Regions from separate parts of the Homo sapiens genome. Here regions 1, 2, 4, 5, 6 and 7 are each linked to region 3. Evidence: promoter capture Hi-C in 16 types of primary human blood cells and fetal thymus (Javierre and others, 2016). All regions are on one chromosome and are shown on one strand. The core of a region is centred on a gene start or on the middle of the fragment in contact, and the rest is flanking DNA. Distances in the headings are between cores, read along the strand shown. Region 1 overlaps MNAT1 (MNAT1 component of CDK activating kinase). Region 2 overlaps MNAT1 (MNAT1 component of CDK activating kinase). Region 3 holds the start of TRMT5 (tRNA methyltransferase 5). Region 4 has its middle 72 kb from the start of TMEM30B. Region 5 has its middle 54 kb from the start of TMEM30B. Region 6 has its middle 110 kb from the start of TMEM30B. Region 7 overlaps MNAT1 (MNAT1 component of CDK activating kinase).

What was found. The method cuts DNA at HindIII sites, captures the fragments that hold promoters and counts their contacts. A CHiCAGO score of 5 or more calls a contact.
Region 1: a contact is called between a fragment that was not itself captured here and the fragment with the promoter of TRMT5 in region 3, in 12 of 17 cell types (erythroblasts, total CD8 T cells, naive CD8 T cells and 9 more). The highest score is 10.8, in erythroblasts.
Region 2: a fragment that was not itself captured here is called in contact with the fragment with the promoter of TRMT5 in region 3 in 1 of 17 cell types (endothelial precursors); the score reaches 5.8 in endothelial precursors.
Region 4: a fragment that was not itself captured here is called in contact with the fragment with the promoter of TRMT5 in region 3 in 1 of 17 cell types (M2 macrophages); the score reaches 6.6 in M2 macrophages.
Region 5: a fragment that was not itself captured here is called in contact with the fragment with the promoter of TRMT5 in region 3 in 1 of 17 cell types (M2 macrophages); the score reaches 6.4 in M2 macrophages.
Region 6: a contact is called between a fragment that was not itself captured here and the fragment with the promoter of TRMT5 in region 3, in 1 of 17 cell types (endothelial precursors). The highest score is 6.1, in endothelial precursors.
Region 7: a fragment that was not itself captured here is called in contact with the fragment with the promoter of TRMT5 in region 3 in 1 of 17 cell types (total B cells); the score reaches 5.0 in total B cells.

The regions. Positions count from the first base shown.
Region 1 is chr14:60,751,758-60,754,461 of GRCh38, reverse strand. The region is part of intron 1 of MNAT1 (MNAT1 component of CDK activating kinase); the gene reads right to left. Among named protein-coding and RNA genes, the nearest start is that of MNAT1, 18 kb to the right of the region's middle. RefSeq lists enhancers at 347-396, 807-1,086. The HindIII fragment of the contact is 1,980 bases long and covers 261-2,240 here.
Region 2 is chr14:60,787,892-60,791,036 of GRCh38, reverse strand. The region is part of intron 1 of MNAT1 (MNAT1 component of CDK activating kinase); the gene reads right to left. Among named protein-coding and RNA genes, the nearest start is that of MNAT1, 55 kb to the right of the region's middle. RefSeq lists an enhancer at 426-955. The HindIII fragment of the contact is 845 bases long and covers 1,140-1,984 here.
Region 3 is chr14:60,979,637-60,982,473 of GRCh38, reverse strand. TRMT5 (tRNA methyltransferase 5) reads left to right here and starts at 1,395. Exons shown (of 5, transcript NM_020810.3): 1 at 1,395-1,511; 2 at 2,588-2,837. The coding sequence starts at 1,501. SLC38A6 (solute carrier family 38 member 6) reads right to left here and starts at 1,229. Exons shown (of 16, transcript NM_153811.3): 1 at 1,092-1,229. The coding sequence starts at 1,196. RefSeq lists an enhancer at 1,126-1,505. The HindIII fragment of the contact is 5,504 bases long and covers 1-2,837 here.
Region 4 is chr14:61,208,069-61,211,014 of GRCh38, reverse strand. It overlaps a transcript of PRKCH not described here. Among named protein-coding and RNA genes, the nearest start is that of TMEM30B, 72 kb to the left of the region's middle. The HindIII fragment of the contact is 9,130 bases long and covers 1-2,946 here.
Region 5 is chr14:61,226,168-61,229,166 of GRCh38, reverse strand. It overlaps a transcript of PRKCH not described here. Among named protein-coding and RNA genes, the nearest start is that of TMEM30B, 54 kb to the left of the region's middle. The HindIII fragment of the contact is 9,935 bases long and covers 1-2,999 here.
Region 6 is chr14:61,173,976-61,176,872 of GRCh38, reverse strand. No RefSeq gene overlaps it. Among named protein-coding and RNA genes, the nearest start is that of TMEM30B, 110 kb to the left of the region's middle. RefSeq lists an enhancer at 2,080-2,581. The HindIII fragment of the contact is 1,923 bases long and covers 535-2,457 here.
Region 7 is chr14:60,846,173-60,848,949 of GRCh38, reverse strand. The region is part of intron 6 of MNAT1 (MNAT1 component of CDK activating kinase); the gene reads right to left. Among named protein-coding and RNA genes, the nearest start is that of MNAT1, 110 kb to the right of the region's middle. The HindIII fragment of the contact is 2,054 bases long and covers 436-2,489 here.

The DNA of each region.
Region 1 (2,704 bases), core at 1-2,500, 230 kb after region 3:
ACAGCAGAATCGCTTGAACCTGGGAGGCGGAGGTTGCAGTGAGCCAAGATCGTGCCACTGCACTCCAACTCCAGCTTGGGCGACAGAGCGAGACTCGGTCTCAAAAAAAAAAAAAAAAAAGAAGAAATTTCTCCCTATTATTAAAAAAAAAATAAAATCCCTAATATGTGTACAGCTTTTGGCAATGTGCCTTTTGTTTTAATAAAGATGAAGGGATTCTATTAGTTATCTGTTGCTGCATAACAAAACACCACCAAGCTTGACAGCTTAAAACAATAAACAATTTATTATCTCACAAAATTTCTCAGTGTCAGGAATCCAGGAGCAGCTTATTTGTCAAGATATCAGCTGGGGCTGCAGTCATCTGAAGACAGGACTGGGACTGAAGACTAAGATGGCTCACTGACTTGGCGGTTAGTAGAAGGTCTCAGTTCTTAACCACACGGAACTTCATAAGGCTGCTGACGACACATAAACTGTCTTTCATGACAGCAAGTTGCCCAAGAACATAGAGAGTAACCACATGGAAAGCCACAAAGTCTTTGTTAAAGACCTAGCCTTGGAAATGAGAAACTTCTACCATATTCGATTGGTTATACAAGCAACCCTGATACAATCAGGGAGAAACTAAGCAAGGACATAAAAAGTAGGAGACAAAAATCACTGGGAGCCCTCTTGGATTCAAGGTATTCCAGTGATAAATATACATATGTGGTTGGTGTGGTTTTACATATGGCCACAAATTCTTTATACTTCTTTCATCAAAAGGGGAAGCCCAATTCCCCTTCCTCTGAATGTGAGCTGTATTTAGGACTCTGAACAAACAGAATGCAGCAGAAACGATGGTGTCTGAATGATGTTCATAGAAGACATCGTGGCTTCTGTTTGTCTCTCTCTTGAATCATCCACCTGAGGAGAAGAAAGCTACTATGTTGTGCGAACACTGAAGAAATCCTTAGGAGAGGCCCATGTGACAAAGAACTGACACCTCTAGCCAAAAAATAACAGTAAAGAACTGAGGACTCCTGACAAAAACCACATGAGTGAGCTTAATACAGTCAGCCCTCCATATACATGGGGTTTTGCATACTGTGAATACTGTATTTTCAATTCTTATTTGTTTTGTTTTTTGAAATCCACATATAAGTGGACACACACTTCAAACTCATGTTGTTTAATGGTCAACTGTTTATCCTCCAACTCCAGTCAAGCCTTCAAATGAATAGAGCCCCAGCTGAAACTTGATTGCAATCTCATGAGACACCCTGAGCCAAAACTACCCAGCTCAGCCATGCCCAAATTCCTGATGCACAAGAACCGTGAGAAAATAAATGTTTGTTATTTTAAGCCATTTAGTTTTAGGATAATTTGTTAGACAGCAATAAATAACTAGTGCAAGCCAGGTGCGGTGGCTCACGCCTGTAATCCCAGCACTCTGGGAGGCCAAGGTGGGTGGGTCACCTGAGGTCAGGAGTTCAAGACTAGCCTGGCCAACATGGCAAAACCCTGTCTCTACTAAAAATACAAAAATTAGTCGGGCATGGTGGTGCGTACCTGTAATCCCAGCTACTCGGGAAGCTGAGGCAGGAGAACTGCTCCAACCCAGGAGGCAGAGGTTGCAGTGAGCCAAGATCACACCACTGCACTCTAGCCTGGGCAACAGAGTGAGACTCCATCTCAAAAAATAATAATAATAAGTAGTACAATGGTAGAGTAATATGAAATTTCTTACAAAATTAGTTACTGAGTCAAAACTTAAAACAGCATTCTCCAAAGTGTTTTTTGTTTGTTTGCTTTGAGACAGAGCCTCACTCTGTCACCCAGGCTGGAATATAGTGGCACACTCATAGCTCACTGCAGCCTTGACCCCCTGGGCTCAAGCAATCCTCCTACCCCAGCCTCCAGAGCAGCTGAGACTACACAGCACACACACATACAAATAAGAAGATAAAAATTAAAAGAACTCCTCTGTGAAAGTATTATGTATAATTTTTTTCTTTTGTCAAAACATTTTTTAATATTATCTTGTGGCATTTTTTCAATAAAACATAATAGACATGCTTAAAATAAATCTATTTTAAAATACATTTTTTAAAAAATGCAAATATTAAAAACTATATTCCTAATCCCAAAGAATATAGAAATAGATCCTTAACTGGTCCTCACTTATGCTCCAATAGATCTCAAAAATACAGCATCTGGCATGTCATACTTCATAAATCCCATCACTTTTGAAAGCTTTTTTGTCCCATATCTTCTATTCCAAATCCATTCTAGATCAGTAGCAAGAAATAAGATCAAATAAAACAACATATTTTGGTAACATTATCTGAAACAGTACCAAAATATGATGATTTTTTTAGAAACATGTCAGTTAACACCAGGAAGTAAACACAGTAGAACTATTTATAAAGAAATTATATCTAATATTGGTAAATTTCAAGATATTTATATTTTAATGAGCTGAATTGTTTATAAGTAAACCAGTTAGTGCTAGATGCAGTTTGCTTCAGTTACCTGAAATTAGAACAGCAAGTTCATTAAATATATATAAATCAGTGGTGCAGAGGCACTGCACCATATTGATGGAGGCTTCATTGATTTTCAATGATATAACCACTATCATATTTGTGTTCTAAAAAAACTGAGTGAGGTATACAATCACTTGTCCTCATCTCAAAATTCTTTTTTTTTTTACATATTC
Region 2 (3,145 bases), core at 313-2,812, 190 kb after region 3:
AAAAAATGGGTTTGTATCCTCCTGACAGACAGCAAGGACCATGGAATCTATCCAGTTTTCCTTTTTGCCCCTTTGCCAGAAAACTCCTAAGCCAAATTTAAATCCTTTATGGAATAACACTATAAATATTTTCTAGAAAGAGGTTGGAAATATATGAAGGAACATAGAAAGAAAATAACATTAATTAGGGCTTTTGCGATATGATGTAGATATTATTTTCCTTACTACATAGATGAGGGCACTAAGCATGGAGAAGTCAAATAACTGGCTTAAAATCATATAACTAGTAAGAATTCACCATTACCCTGTGAATCCCATATTTCTGAGACAGGACTCAGTCAATTTAGGAAGTTTATTTTGCCAAAGTTAAGGACACACCCTCAGGAGGTCCTGATGACATGTTCCCAAAGTGGTCGAGTACAGCTTGCTTTTATACATTTTATATTGATAATCATGACATACATTTTATATTAATAATCAATATGTGTAAGATGTACATCGGTTTGGTCCAGTAAGGTGGGACAAGTCGAAGTGGGGGCTTCCAGGTTAGAAGTAGATGAGAGACAAAAGGTTGGATTATTTTGAGTCCTTGATCAGCCTTCCACTGAATACACAATTTAGTCTGGCTCAGTGAATCTGCATTTTTACATAAACAATAGGGCAGAGGAAGCAATCAGAGATTCATTTGTCTCAGATGAGCCTCAGAGGAATGACTTTCAATAGAATGGGAGGCAGGTTTGCACTAAGCAGTTCCCAGCTTGACTTTTCCCTTTAGCTTAGTGATTTTGGGGGTCCCAAGATTTATTTCCCTTTTACAGTCCTCTTCATACTCTACACTTTCTCCTTCTATCTTATTCTTACAATTTTTACAATGACCTATGAAAATAATCATCCTAAGTATCTATTTCTAGCCTAAAAATCTCTCCTAAATTCCTATTACACACTGCCCATTGCACAATTACTCTTTGATATCCCACAAGTTACCTCAAACTCAACATACTCAAAACCAATATTCTTCTGTCTGTGTCAGATACACCAACTTTGTGCATAAACATTCATATACTATGGTGAAAATAGAAAAAAAAAGAAAGAAAAAGTAACTCTATTACAAAAGCATACTTTGAATACTATCGTAAGCTTTCAGCCAATGAGCAACAGCTCAACAAATTATACTACATACTCCTAGCCAGCATGTGTTAATAACACATCATATTCCAAATGCTCTAAGCCAAGAACATTTTCTGAAATATGTGGACTATTCTGTAGCCATTCTTTCTGCCACTGATGAACAGTTTCATCCTGATAGCTAAAAAGGGTGTGCATGTGATAGTGCTGGATGTTAAGATTTAAGACATTAGAGGCTCAAAGCCCCTTCAGGGATATGGTTGAGGAAACAAGGTAAAAGCTAGAAATTGGAGGGAAAAGTCTGTCTAACTTTATGAAGGGCTTCAGAAATAATACTGCAGACTGGGAGAACTGACAATTACAGGCATGCCTCATTTTATTGCGAATTGCCTTATTGGGCTTTGCAGATATTTCATTTTTTACAAATTCAAGATTTGTGGCAACGCTGCCATGGAATGAGTCTATCGGCACCATTTTTCCAACAGCATATGCTTACTTCACGTCTCTGTTTCACATTTTGGTAATTCTCACAATATTTCAAACATTTTCATTATCGTTATATCTGACATGGTGTTATGTGATCAGTGATCTTTGGTGTTACCATTTTAATTGTTTCAGGGCACCATGAAAAGCACCCATATAAGACAGCAAACTTAATAAATGTTGTATGTACTCCAACTGCTTCACCAACTGACTGTTCCTCCAACTCTCTCCCTCTTCTCAGACCTCCCATTCCTTGAGACACAACAATATTTAAATTAGGCCAATTAATAACCCTACAATGGACTCTTAGGTGTTCAGGTGAAAAAAACAATCACAGGTTTCTCACTTTAAATCAAAAGACAGAAATGACCAAGCTTCCTGAGGAGGGTGTATCATAAGCTGAGATAGCCCAAAAGCTAGGCCAACTGCACCAGTTAGCCAAGTCATGAATGCAAAGGAAAAGTCCTCGAAGGAAATTAAAAGCACTGCGCCAATGACACACAATGTTAAGAAAGCAAAACAGTCTTATCATTTATACAGAGAAAGTTTCAGTGGTCTGGATAAAAGATCAAACCAGCCACAACATTCCCTTAAACCAAAACCTAATCCAGATCCTAATACCTAACTCTCTTCAATCCTATAAAGGTTGAGAAAGGTGAGGAAGTTGCAGAAGAAAAGTCTGAAGCTAGCAGAGGTTGGTTCATGAAATTCAAGGAAAGATGCTGTTTCCATAACATAAAAGTGCAAGGTGAAGCAGCAAGTGCTGATATGGAGGCTTCAGCAAGTTATCCATAATATCTATCTAAGATAATGATGAAGGTGGCTACACTGAAAAACAGACTTTTCAATGCAGATGAAACATCCTTCTATTGGAAGATGCCGTCTAGGACTTCCATAGCTACAGAGGAGAAGCCAATGCCTGGTTTCAAAGCTTCAAAGGCAAGGGTGTCTTTTCAGGAGATAGTGCAGCTGATGACTAAATTGAAACCAATGTTCATTTGTCATTTTGAAAAATCATAAAGCCCTTAAATATTATGCTAAATCTATACTGCCTGTGCTCTATAAATGGAAGAATAAAGCCTGAATGATGGCGCATCTATTTACAGCATGGTTTGCTTAATATTTGAACCCACTGTTGAGACCTATTGCTCGGAAAAAAAGATTCCTTCCAAAATGTTACTGCCCATTGACAATGAATCTGGTCACCTAAGACCTCTGATGGATATGTGCAAGGACATGAATGTTGTTTTCATGCCTGCTAACACAACATCCATTCAAAAGCCCATGGGTCAAGGAGTAATTCTGACATTGAAGTCTTGTTATTTAAGTAATACATGTCATAATGCTGTAGCTGCTACAGACAATGATTCCTCTGATAGATCTGGGCAAAGCAAATTCAAAACCTTTTTGAAAGGATTCACCATTCTAGATGCCATTAAGAACATGTGTGATTCATGTGAAAAGATAAAAAATATTAACATTAAAAGGCATTTGGAAGAAGTTGATTCCAATCCTCACAGATGACTTTCAGGGTCTG
Region 3 (2,837 bases), core at 146-2,645:
TGGACGGTGAAGTTAAAATTTCGTAAAGAAATTCCATAAATGAAAGATTATGGAAAAAAGCTGCAAACCACCAGGGTTTGTATGACACACTCGTTGCTTAACCAACACTAATTTCCTTTCCTTTCCTTCCCACCTCCCACTACTGCAGCTCCAGGAATCTAGGGTTTCTTAGGAAAATGATTTCCACCAGTACACAAGACAGGCAGAGTTCAGGAAGGGCCATGACTAACCTTGTGACTGCAAGAGATGAAGATAGGATGGGAATGGAGTGGGGAGAGAGAGGAGGGATAAGGCCTCAGCTCATGTGATTACTAAAGAATTGCTGAGTCAACCTGGGACTGCTGTGGGCAGTTGTTTCTCCTCAATTACTAGGACTGCACAACTAATCTCTACTTATATATCTAATGAATTAGTTCTACCAAACTGGAAGGATGGTCAGGAATATCTTGCAATGACAATATTATAAACAGAAGCAATTCACGTTGTTCTGGCAGTATCCCTGAAAACATCCCCCTCCCCACAAACAGCACCGGGAACAAAGTCCTGGGAACAGTGTCTAGGACTCGAGTTAAAAAGCGGAGTGCCCACTGCACAGGCTTTAGGGTCAGGAACGTGCTATGCACTTACTACCAAGCCACTTCCATTCTACCGCTAAGAATTTCTGTATTAAAATGTTTATTATTTTCCCTCCCCCCATGACTAAGTCGGAAGAGGAAAATCCTGTGACTCTTGCAAAGACCTCACGAGACTGGTGGAGAAAATAAGGTGACAAAAATACTAACTAACAGCAGTGAGTACATAATCCTAGGGCCGCTCATCCCATCATGTTCGCAGCTTCCACTCAACGCTGCATCTCTTCCACCCGACGCTTTTCATCTTTTCTTTCTAGAGTATGCTAGGCTGCTATCACGTTCATAACTGCGCCAATCTCATCTGAATCTCGGCGGCTGCCTTCAGACCCCATCCCCCAGGGTTCAGGCTCCAGCATCTCCCCTGTCCCGGTGCGGTCCTCCTTTTCTGGGTCTTATTTGGCAGGCACTTGAGGGAAGCCGGAGGGCGTCAGCGCGGGGAAGCGAACACAGCCCACTTACGTTGCTTAGCAACGGACTCAACTCTTCGGCCTCCGCTTCTTCAGGCTGCTGGACAGAGACATACCAGCCCCGCTCAGCGTTGAAGCTCCCCCAGGACGCCTCCATGCTGCTCTCCAGCTGACTACCAGTTCCATCTACGAGCCTCTACCCCTGCCCTGCGCTCCAGTCGTCGGTCGCGCCAGAGGCGGAGCTTTGAGCCCGGCCCTTCCGGCATTCCGTACTTCACCAGGGCCTGGAAGGAGAGGAGCGAGTCGACTTGATCTGATGACGCGCGCCCTCTTCGCGGCGAACAGTGATGATGTCATAGAAGACCCGCCCATCCACCCGCGACCCACATCCGATCGGTACCGGAGCGGGAGGTGAGGGGTCGGCTCGCGGATCCAGCTGCAGAGCGACGTGGGGAATTGGAATGGTGCTTTGGTGAGGTGGCGGCCGCGTTAGGGGCTAATGGTCCAGGGGAGGTACCAGCCCGCCCAGGGCTGCTCTCTGCCATGTGCTGCCTGGGCACAGAAACATCGCGAGGTCACCCACCCGCCTAGGTGCTGAGCTTAGTTTCGAGGTTCTGGATAGTAAGGAATGTTTCAAAAGCCTTTCGCCACATTTTACTGGTGGGAAAACCGAGACTTATAGTAATTTATCCAGGGTCACCCAGCTGGTCAGCTGCTAGAACCAATTTGATCTCTGACGGTGAAGTTAGACTTCGTTGCTTTACAGGATTCTGGGACAGGGCCCTTTCCCCTTACAAGTAAATTCTTTGGTATTTTAGAAGACAGTGAATAACTGATACTATGCATATAACAATCAGCAAAGCTCTCGTCCTCAAAATACAGAAGCCTCTAGTTAAAGGCAGGACATGTGGCAGTAAAGCATCGAAAACAAACAACAGAGCAATATATTAAGAACACAAGCACCGAAGTCAGTCAAAACTAGGTTTTAATCCATGTTTAGCCACTTATCAGCTGGGAGACTTTGGGTGGGTTACCTTACGTCTGAGCTTTAGTTTACTTATTTACAAAATGAGGGTGCAATACTGCACACCTCCCAAGATTCATAATGTACATAAAGCATTTAGCGCAGTATCTGACACAATAAGCACCCATGAGACTATCCTAATAAATATCACCACTAGTAATGGTCATGTATAATGACTATTTCATTTACAGATGACCATTTAACTCATACTTCAGTCTTCCAATCCCAAATGTATTATCTAGAAAATTGTGGGTGAAGAGGATCATTGAGTATGGCTAATGGATCACTAAGCCCTCTGAACTGGGAGCAGATGGGTTGAAGGTGTAAATTTAATATATACCACTATTATCTACCACTAATACGACTTCCTGAAGAAGTCATCCTAGTCTGGAAAAGATAGTATACTTCCCACACATCACTAAACGTTTTATTTGTCAGCATTTAGCCCGTTATTTGAGATAGTAGAATTTAGATTTTTATTCTCAAAAGCTGTCGTGTGTGAATTTTTTTTTTTTTTTTTTAAGGATCTTATGGAGGCCATTTGGATTCTCAGGAAGATTTCTGAAACTGGAAAGCCATAGCATAACTGAATCAAAATCGTTGATTCCAGTAGCTTGGACATCCCTGACACAGATGCTTTTGGAAGCACCTGGTATTTTCTTATTGGGTCAAAGAAAAAGATTCTCAACCATGCCAGAAACAGAAACACATGAGAGAGAGACTGAATTGTTTTCACCACCTTCTGATGTCCGAGGCATGACAAAACTTGATAGA
Region 4 (2,946 bases), core at 170-2,669, 230 kb before region 3:
TCCCAACTGCTGCCCCAACACAAGATGCAGAGACAGCAGCATGGCATTTACTTGGACTTTTGGGTTAACGCTAGATTCCTCCTCTCACTCCCACAATTGCATGTGGTCTAATCCCTATATGCAATGCCTCCTTCCATATCATTCATAGTGCTTCTGCTTCTCTAATTCAACCCAGGCAATATGGAATGCACGCGTGCACGCACACACACACACACACACACACAGAGAGAGAGAGAGAGAGAGAGAGAGAGAGAGAGAGAAAGGACTCTTGGCCTATTTAATGTGATCACTTGGGACCCCTATACATTTATTCCAATGATGTTCACTGACTCATTATGGGACTTGGAAAGTCACTTCATCCCCCTTGACCTCATCTGTAAAATGAGGGCTGGGTCTAAATCAATGTTTTTCATTTTGTCTGGTTATTAAATCACGAAGGTTATCATGATAAGTACAGAATCCCAAAGTCACAGTTCAGACTTACTGAATCAAAATCTTCAGGGGAGTGATCAGCAAATCTTTGTTTTACACCAGGGCCCCAGGTAATTTGTATCATCAGGTAAAGTTGGGGAAAGGCTGATAGATATGGGTGGGTAGTTGGTGCCCAAGAGGGCAAGTGGAAGCTGGAATGCAACATGTGCTTTACTCACCAAGCTGTACGTCCTGGTGTCCAAGAGGCATTTTATTTATTTATTTTTTCTGAGACCGAGTCTAGCTCTGTCACTCAGGCTGGAGTGCAGTGGCACGATCTCGGCTTACTGTAACCTCCGCCTCCCGGGTTCAAGCAGTTCTCCTGCCTCAGCCTCCTGAAAAGCTGGGATTACAGGTGCCTGCCACTATGCCAAGCTAATTTATATATATATATATATATATATATATATATATATATATATATATATATATTTGTTTGTTTGTTTGTTTTGTTTTTTGTTTTTGTTTTAGTAGAGACAGGGTTTCACGGTGTTGGCCAGGCTGGTCTTGAACTCCTGACCTCGTGATCCACCCTCCTCGGCCTCCCAAAGTGCTGGGATTATAAGCGTGAGCCACCACACCTGGCCCTAAGATGCATTTTAAACATTTGCAGTGAACTAACTCAGAAAATCAAATACTGCATGTTCTCATTTATAAGTGGGTGCTAAACAATGGGTGCACATGGACATAAAGATGGAAATAATAGACACCAGGGAGTTCAAAAGGAGGGAGGGAAGCAGGGGGATGATGGCTCAAAAATTACCTGTTGGGTACAATGTTCAACATTTGGGTGATGGGTACGGTAGAAACCCAATCCCCACCATTAAGCTATATACCCATGTAACAAATCCCCTGCATCTAAAAGAAAAAATGAAAAGTTTGCACAAAGGCTTATGGCACCCTGAGTTTGGAAACTGTTGGATCATATGATCACTATGGTCCAGTCTATGTCTGACATTCTGTAATTTGAAGCTGTATAAGGATCCTTTAATGATCCTAAAATGAGGCTTGTCCCTACTCATTGCTTCATGATAGTTACTCTTGGTGGTTGTCTCAGTCAGCTCGGGATGCTATGATAAAATACGATAGACTGGGTGACTTAAAGAACAGACATTTATTTCTTACCGTTCTGGAAGCTGGAATCCAAGATCTTGGTGCCAGTATAGTTGAGTTGCTGATGAGGGCCTTCTTCCTGGGTGGATGAGTAGCTTTTTTTTTTTTTTTTTTTTTTTTAAATAAAGGCACTGTCTTAGTCCATTTTGTATTGTTGTAACAGAATACCACAGGCTGGGTAATTTATAAAGAAAAAAAATTCATTTCTTACAGTTTTTGAGGCTGAGAAGTCCAAGAGCATAGCACCGGTATCTGGCAAGGGCCTTTGGGCTACATCATCCCATGGCGGAAGATGGAAGGGCAAGAGAGCATGAGAGAGCAAGAGGAGGGTTTTATAACAAACCCACTCTCTCAATAGCAAAGCCATTCCCTTGATAATGGCATTAATCCGTTCATGAAGGTGGAGCATGCATGATTTAATCAACTCTTAACGATCCCACCTCTCAACACCGCTGCATTGGGAATTAAGTTTCCAACTTATGAACTTTAGGGGACACATTCAAACCATAGCAGGTACTAATCCCATCTAACGACCTAATTATCCCCCAAAGGCCACAACTACAAATACCATCATATTGGGGTTAGGTCTTCAACAAGTGAATTTTGTAGGGACACAATTCAGATCATAGCAATGGTAATTGAACTTTGTGTATTCTTAATGAACAAAAGGCTGCTATAAAGTCAATAGTGCTTTAAGATTATTGTTTACTTTATCAATCGTTGTTAAAAATATGGGTATATATGTGTGTGAAACCTTATTTAAGCTATAGAAAATGCCTGGTTCGCTTAAAGACGCGCTCTTCAGGACTCTATGATTTTTGGAATCATTGAGAATCTTAAGACTTTCACCTTTAAAATTATATTCAGAACTAGTCAAGGAATTCAATCTCATAACTTGGGGATTATGTCTCACCTTTGATAGAAAATGGTAATATCCAGCTTGGATTCTCACCTCATTTACTCAAACATGTTGCTGAATAATTTTTAGTTGCTTACAAAAAGTTAAGCACACTTTCAAAATTAAACAATTATTACAAAGTCACTGAGAACTGACTGAATGTGAAGACTGTCTTATAATTTTTTTTGTCCCTTATAGTACTTTCCCCAGTGCCACAAATCTGGAAAATGTCAATAAATATTCACTGAATAAAAAAATAAATAAATACCTGCCACTACTGAACCATACACTTAAAAATGGTTTTAAAATTAAAAAATAAATGAAAGGGATCACAGTATTTAAAGGCAATTCTTTTAAATAAGAGAATTCAGTAAATACTTTGTAATTAAACACTGATTAAATCAAACATTTCATCTCTCCAGGTAACATTTCAAAGAAGGGACATTTCAAAAAAAAAATCAGTT
Region 5 (2,999 bases), core at 176-2,675, 250 kb before region 3:
ATTTTGGAGTATTTAGATTATTTCCATTTGGGGAGTTATTATAAATTATACTATGAGAATGTTCTCTTATCTAAATATTTATGCTACTGTCCCCATAGTATAAATTCCTACCAGTGGAATTTCTGGGTTGAGGATATGCCTATTTTGATGGCTTGTTGTTACATACTGTAAAATTGCTTTCCAGAAAGGTGAAATGTATTACATTCCCACCAGCCACTGCCCCAATACTCTAATTAAAGTCATTTATAATTTTATTTATATATTTTTTATATTAAAAAAAATTTTTTTTAAAGGGAGAGGATCTCACTATGTTGCCCCGGCTGGTCTTGAACTACTGGGCCCAAGCAATCCTCCTGCTTTGGCCTCCCAAAGTGCTAGGATTAGCGGCATGAGCCACGGTACCTGACACATTTTGTAACTTTAGAAAAATGACTAAAAAGGAAAGAAAAACTCTTTCCCGAACTGCTTTCCTTAGGAAAGCAAAATACATATAGAAAAGGTTTGATGAACTCTTATTCATCTATCCTTTCATTTGTTACTAGAAAAAAAATCTTGGGAGGCTAAAATACAACTGTGAGCTGCTATCAGACTGGTATGATAGATTCATCTTCTATCCAATATTGCAAGTCCTCAAGATGTGCTTCCTTTTTCTGTTTCCCTTTGTTCTGTGGACACCAAGTACAAACTCTGATCGCCAATCCTCCAAGGATTGAGAAGAGGTGGCTTCTATTGACACAGCAGAAGGGAACTTGCTATGAGGAGGGAGGAGGGCTCAGGTTCCGTGCTGTCAGCAAAAAGCTCCTATAAACAGAGCGCAACACATTAAGCCCTTGTTGTTAATATGCTGTCTAGACTTTAAAAATTGCTTTTCTCTCTGTCTTCTACACTTCAACTTTCGACCTTGTTTCTGTCCTTGTATTTGTAAAAATGACTGGACTCAAGCATTTCTTCTCTCCTCGGGATTCAATGGCCAAGTTACTTTTCACCCAAGCTACTATAGTGACCCAGGGTGGACATGATCCTAGCCTCTTCTCTACTGTATAATGAATGAAAAACTTGACAACATTTGACCCATGACTCAGAAAATGCAAGAGTCCTCCTTCCTTTGGGACAATGTAAATGGATACTCCCTGCAGAAATTGGAGCAGACAATCCCTTTGTTTATTACTGATGGAAACCTGGAAGGTATTTAGGGAGGGTTAAGAAAAGTTTGTGGTGCCACACTTAGGGTAGAAGCAAATTGCTAGCAAAACGATTATGAGCCTTTGTTTTCAAATATATTTTACTCAGGAATGTTTCTCTACCCTCTGCACATGATTAAAATCCCCAGGGCCCTCATGCTAACATCTGGCTGCTCAGGTCTCTCTTCAAGACGGCATATTTATCAAGCACTTACTATTAGGTTGCTGCAAAAATAATCACGGTTTTTGCCATTTAAAAGTAATGGCAAAAACCGCGATTACTTTTGCACCAACCTAATATATGCCAGGCATTCCTATGCATGGACATAAAAATGTTCGCATTTAACCCTCACAACTGCAATCTTTATTTATTTATTTATTTATCTATTTTTTGAGACAGAGTCTCGCTCTTTTGCCCAGGCTGGAGTGCAGTGGCGCATCTCTGCTCACTACAAGCTCTGCCTCCCAGGTTCAGGCCATTCTCCTGCCTCAGCCTCCCGAGTCGCTGGGACTACGGGCGCTCGCCACCACGCCTGGCTAATTTTTTATATTTTTTAGTAGAGACGGGGTTTCACCGTGTTAGCCAGGATGGTCCCGATCTCCTGACCTCGTGATCCCCTGCCTTGGCCTCCCAAAGGGCTGGGATTACAGGCGTGAGCCACCGCGCCCAGCCACAACAGCAATCTTATGAGGCAGGTACTCTTATTATTGTCATTCCTGTTGTACCAATGCAGGAAAAACAGTTAAGAAACTTCTTGGAGATGACAGAGTGAGTAAGCGAGGAAAGCAGTCTGACTTTGAGAACCACATGATTAACTGCTGTTCTATACTGCCAATTTATTTAGATTCTTTTGTTCTAGGTTCTTCTTCTCTGCCACCAAAAATCAATAAATCACTTGTCCTCTTATTCTCTCCGGGCCTTGCAAAGTGGCTAAGTTAATCTGATAAACAAATTTAGGTGGTTAATGGCGACAATGGACCAAGGCATTGCCCATCTCAGTAGATGTATTGTACACCAGGACTTTCACTGTGAAAAGCCTAGGAGTGGCAGCCAAGGAGATCTGAGAGAGATTTGGTAGTGGGAAGGGAAGGCAAGGAATGATGGTGGTAATGGGAAGTGGAAGGGGGTGGTGGGTAGAATATTTTTGGGTGGGGGAGCCTATTCTATCATCAGCCAGTGGTTCACTCAGCACATAGGACAAGACAAGCCCTGGATATAATAATATTTAGGCCTTTGTTAGGAACGACTGAATGCTCAAATGTTTGCCTTCATGATTAAGAGAACCCAGAATCTTTAGAGAACGACCATTGTCTCCCAACCACTGCCAAATACAATGCTTTGTGGAAACCACATAATTCCATGGTCTATCCACAACATCCAGTTTTCTGCCACATTTTTGTGATTAAGGAAACCAAAAGGAGCAGGACACAGTTGCCCCACATAAATCTATCTGTCACCCTCGCCTGGTATAAGCCAATTGAAATATCACAAACCCACATCAAGTTGTCACATTCTTTTAATGTAATCGACCCACAACATCCCACACATACTTTCCTCTCTTGACTTTCTCTGGGGCCAGGGTAGTTTGTGTTAGAGAAATGATGACTTGCTGGAAGGTGTGGCCAAGGAATAATATAATCGTTGGCTTGAAGATGTATATTTTGGTCCTGGATAAATGTATTTAAAAGATTTTAATGAGTCATGAAGGTAGTGCTGACACTTAGAACAATATTTTTCATGCTCTTTAAGATGAATAACTAACACAGTGCCTGGCTCAGAGTGGAGGCCAATAAATGCTTACTGGTTGAAAGAATGAG
Region 6 (2,897 bases), core at 247-2,746, 190 kb before region 3:
TCTGGTATTTCCAGACTCATTTCCAAGCTGTGGGACATTCCTCAGAGTCAGTTTTTTCCATCCGTGTAATGGGAATATTAACTTTCCTATCTACCTCCCAGAATTATTAACATGATCAAATGAGAAAATACATGAACAGAGGTACATATACAGTTGGTTATTAACACTTGTTTTTAAAATGTGAATTTATTGTGATTGAATTAAAGTATTGGGGACAATGTGAACATAATTCAAGTTTCTCATAGGCAATTTTATCTGCAAGAGAAAACTAGATTAACATAGAAGATGGCACCCAGCTGAACTGAGTCTTGTCAGGATTCACAAAATGCCACATGCACATATTCCACGCATCTGCCCTACTACCTTGCAGATGTGTTATTCTAACTAATCTACTTATCACAACCAACTGGGTCATCCTACGAGGTTATATTTTCCTATTCTTTCACATTTGTAAAGTGTTGTGTATTAAAAAGAATTCATTCAACATCTCCAACATGTCTAAGCATCACAAGCAGGGCATGGGAAAGAAAAGCTTTGTGTATTGAGGGGGGAAATTGAAGTAAAGCATTTTGAGAGAATCAAGAGAACCTATGCTATCTCCCAAGCAACAGACCATAGAAATAAAAGAAATGTCTGTGGATGGAATAAGTTCAAGTGCTGAGAAATCAATAAGAATAAGGCATGATCCACCCACCTTGGACACCCAAAGTGCTGGGATTATAGGCGAGGTCAAGAGATCGAGACCATCCTGGCCAACATGGTGAAACCCCATCTCTACTAAAAATACAAAAATTAGCTGGGCATGGTGGCAAGTGCCTGTAGTCCCAGCTACTTGGGGAGGCTGAGGCAGGAGAATCGCTTGAACCTGGGAGGCGGAGGTTGCAGTGAGCTGAGATTGCACCACTGCACCCCTCCAGCCTGGTGACAGAGCAAGACTCCGTCTCAAAAAAAAAAAAAAAAAAAAAAAAAAAAAAAAAAAGGCATGAAGACATAGAAGAGATGGAAAGATGAGCATTGTTGAAACCGAAAACTAGGTGGTGAAAAATAAGGGCAACCTCGCTCACAAAGAGAAAGCACTATCTACGTGCAAAAACCTTAATGGAAATTACCACATTCTGCAGAAATGACACCTTTTGTTCTATGAGGGGCTGATTTGGTGATTTCAAATATCACCACAATTTCCAAAGACTTCAGCTATTGAGTGAAGTCCTCAAGTGTGGATGAGAAAACTGCAAAGGAATTTCCAGCAGGGATACAGAAATTAACTAAAGAAGAAAATGCTACATTTTCAAATTTTCAATTTTGATGAAACGGATATCCATTATAAATGCATGCTTCAAATGGCCCACATTTCAGAATTTTAAGGCTGCAAAAAATCAAAAATGTTGGTGATCTTTCTTCTACTACTTCATCCTAACACAAGCAGCAACCCTCTCAGCTCCCTCTTCCATCAGCAAATGGCAGGTATTTTTAAAGATAAAGTGCCATATTTATTGTAGTATTTACATTTTTTTCATTATTTAACATGCACAAAACTGTGCTATCATTTTTATTAAGTTCCTATCTTTTTTATATTACCAACAAAGTGTTTAGGTACTGTGCCCCTGACCCTGTCTTTTCTCTAAGCCTGTGGTTTTTATTGTGCAATTTTGCATAACACAGTGAGTTTTAGGAATGCATGTATCATGTTATAGCAGAACTATCTGGATCTTTTAATTCCCACACATCTCTCCCTCAGCCATGGTTTGGCGACCACAGGCTACAGGTGTGAACCCATAATTCAAATCTGCCACTCCCCTCTGGGCCCCAGGACCAGAACCTCTCAAACTCCTCTTCACCCCTGCAGGCCTTCAGGGCCGAATCAAATTTCTTGACAACTCTACACTGTGCAGCTACTTTTGATGGACCCTCCGGAAATCGCTTGTCCTTTTTCATCTTCAACACCACTGATCTTATCCTTTCTTACTTAAGGCTCCTTGCTAGGCCTTGTATCTCTGTTGTGGTTCCTAGTGTTTTCTTTCCACTGAAGAAGTACCTCCTCCCCTTCCCCTCATCAGATGGTGCTGACTGAGCTGACAGGACTTAATTGAAGCTGGCATTATTTCCGATGAGAGCAGCGATTGAAAACTAGCATAGCTCTTGTGTGACACCGACACACACTCTCAGAAGGAGACTCAGCGGTGTGCTGGAGAGCCGCTGAGCTATTGTTGAGCTGTTCTGGAAGGCTTTGGCTTTCCTGCAGGACCCTAGATCTGTCTCTGCAAAAGCAACCTAAGACCAGCCCTGCATGAGGTAAGAAGAATGGGATGGAAATCAGGCCCATAGCTACCTAGAAAACCACATTTTAACAGCTGCCATTTATGGAACGCTTTTCCTGGGGAATTTCATTATTCTTTCCTGACTACCTAACACATGTCAGAATTTGGAAAGTTAAGGAAATACCCCACTGGGTAAGCTTTAAAATGCGAGTTTCTAGCTCTTCCTGTTTCTAAACTCCAGTAGCTTTGTCTACATAAGAACACCACTGTGTGGTTCAGTAAAGACAACCCTAGAATGAAAGGTGTAAATTATGTCACTCAGTGAAGTAGAAACTTCCAAAATATTTTAGTACTAAAGAGTCTAAAGGTTGAGATCAACAGAATTCTCCTGAAATCTGGCAGACGTCCTTTAACCCTTTAAGTTCAGCTGAAGTGTGTATGGCTTAGGAATGGTTTTTAAGGGGATAACATTGAATTTGATTAGCAATTAGGAGAATTGCACTTGATTCCAAATTCATCTCCTGACATGTTGGCATCTGAATATTTCAGCTCTAAATTACAGACCTCAATAACATAATGCTAAACAGTATCTAACACCAAAGTGAAAACACAGTGTGTTTTAGTCATTTTCTGTTGGTG
Region 7 (2,777 bases), core at 213-2,712, 130 kb after region 3:
TACTTGACAGTGACATAGTCCAGAGTTAAATATTTATAGACATTAACTCTTAAAGAGACTAATACATGTCTCAATGCAAATACTAAATATACTATGGTATCTTTTACCTAGTCTTAAAGATTATCATTCAATATTTATCAAAAGGAAAACATCTTATTAAGATTATATAGTCCTCCAGAAAAGTCAATACTTTAATTATTATAAGCCTTATTTTTATATGTGTTTTTATGTGACATATATAGAGTAAATACATCTATAGGGGATATGTTTATGAAATCCCATGAAGCAAGAAAAAAATCTGAAAGCAACAGTACATAACGCCACAACATGAAGTAAAACAAAAAAATTAACACGGTATCACCATTTCTTATAACAAAGATGCTTAAGTAGTCATTCCTCAGAGAGGTATTATTGAATTACATGGCAATAAAAGCTTGAGGAAAATTATATAAAACTTGAGGGAATCATATAAAAATAAATTCAGGCTGTAACTATTTTTAAAACACAATGAAAATCTAAACTACCAGTTCATGCTAAAGCCCAAAAAGGGTGACAAAATTAGTAAAGTTAAAGCCCTGCTGGGCCCTAAAAATACAGAAAGATGAACACAAAGAGAAAATCTTAAAAGCAGCAAAAGAGAAAATACTTATCACACACAATGGACCCTCAATGAGACTAACAGCTGACTTAGCATCAGAAACCATAGAAGTCAGAAGGTAGTGGAACGATATATTCAAACGGCTAAAAGAAAAACACTAAACCAAGAATTCTTTATCCAAATAAACTACCCTACAAAACTGAGGCAGAATAAAGACATTCCCAGGTAAAGACTGAGGAATCTGTAAAAATAGTAAAGATGTCCTGCAGGCTAAAAGGAAATGATACCAAGCAGTAACTCAAATTCTCACAAAGAAATGAAGAATACTCAAGAGGTAATTACATAGACAAATCTAAAAGACTGAATAAAAACTTTTCTCTCTTTATTCCTCTTAACAAATTTACAAAACAGCTACAAAAAAAAACCTGTAAAACTGTATGGTTAATCTTACAGCATATAAAATATAATACATATGACAATGGCACTCTCCAGGAGAGGAAAAGGAATGAAGCTATACAGAATTAAATATTCTACATATTACTAACACTGAATTAGTATTAATATGAAGTCAATTGTAATAAGTCAATATGCATATTGTAACCCTAGGTCAACCAATATAAAAACACTTAAAAATATGCATAGTAAAAAGAAAATAATTTAAATGTGCACAAGAAAATATCTATTTAACACAAAAAAGAGCAATAAATGAGGAAGAGAAGAACAAAAAGCACCATGAGAAATATACAAAACAAACATTAAACGTAAATAGCTTGAACACTATAAAAACAAAGACTATCCAAATGAAAAACATCCAGCACACATTAGAATCAAAGATATAAAATAGGTTGAAAGCAAAAGTGTGAAACAAGATAAACAATGTAAACAATAACCATAAGAGAGCTGAAGTAGCTGTACTAAAATAAAACAAGTCTTTTTTTTTTTTTTTTTGAGACGTTGTCTCACTCTTTCACCCAGGCCAGACTGCAGTGGTGCGATCTTGGCTCACTGCAACCTCCGCCTCCTGGGTTCATGCCATTCTCCTGCCTCAGCCTCCTGAGTAGCTGGAACTACAGGTGCCCGCCAACACACCCAGCTAATTTTTTGTATTTTTAGTAGAGACGGGGTTTCACCGTGTTAGCCAGGATGGTCTCGATCTCCTGTCCTCATGATCCGCCCGCCTCGGCCTCCCAAAGTGCTGGGGATTACAGGTGTGAGCCACCGTGCCCGGCAAATAAAACAAGTCTTTAAGACAAAAACTGTTACTAGAGACAAAAGCATTTCATAATGATAAAAGGGTCAATATCATGAAGATATAAAAATTATAAACATACAAAAGGAGTCTCAAAATACATGAAGCAACGCTGGACAGAATTGAGAGAGAAATAAACAATTCAACAATAATAGTCAGAGATTTCAAAACTCCACTCAATAATTGATAGACAAACTAGACAGAAAATCTGTAAGGACACAGAAGACTTCAACATAACCATCAAGCAACATGATGTAACTAACATCTAACACATTCTTCCCAAATATAGAATAAAATTTCAAGTACTTGTGGAACATTCTCCACAATAAAAAATATATTTGGCCATAACATAAGTAACGGTAAATTTTAAAAATTGGGATCATACAAAGCATGCCCTCAAACCAAAGTGGAATTAAATTAGAACAACAACCTCTAAATAATCCATGGTCAAACAAGAAATCACAAGAAAAAATTTAAAAATGTATCCAATTGTATGAATATGAAAATACAACATATTATTGTAGCAAAAGCAGTATGTAGAGGTATTATAGCTTTAAATGCCTATTTTTAGAAAAGAAGAAAGACCTCAAATAAATAACCCAAGTTTCCACCTTAAGAAATTAGGAAAAGAAGAGCAAAGCTTATAAGCAGAAGGACAACCATAAATATTAGAATGGAGATCAATGAAATGGAAATCAAAAAAAATTTTTTAAAAATTCTTAAAACCAAGGTTGATTCTTTGAAAAGATCAACAAGACTGTCACACCGCTAGGTTGATGTGCCAAGGGAAAAAAAAGAGAAGGAACAAAACTACCAAAATAAGAAATAAAAGAGTGAACGTGATCCTGACCCTACAGAAATTCAACTTAGAAGAAACTGACCAATTTCTAGGAATACTCAAAATATCAAGACAAGGAATGAAGGAAAAAG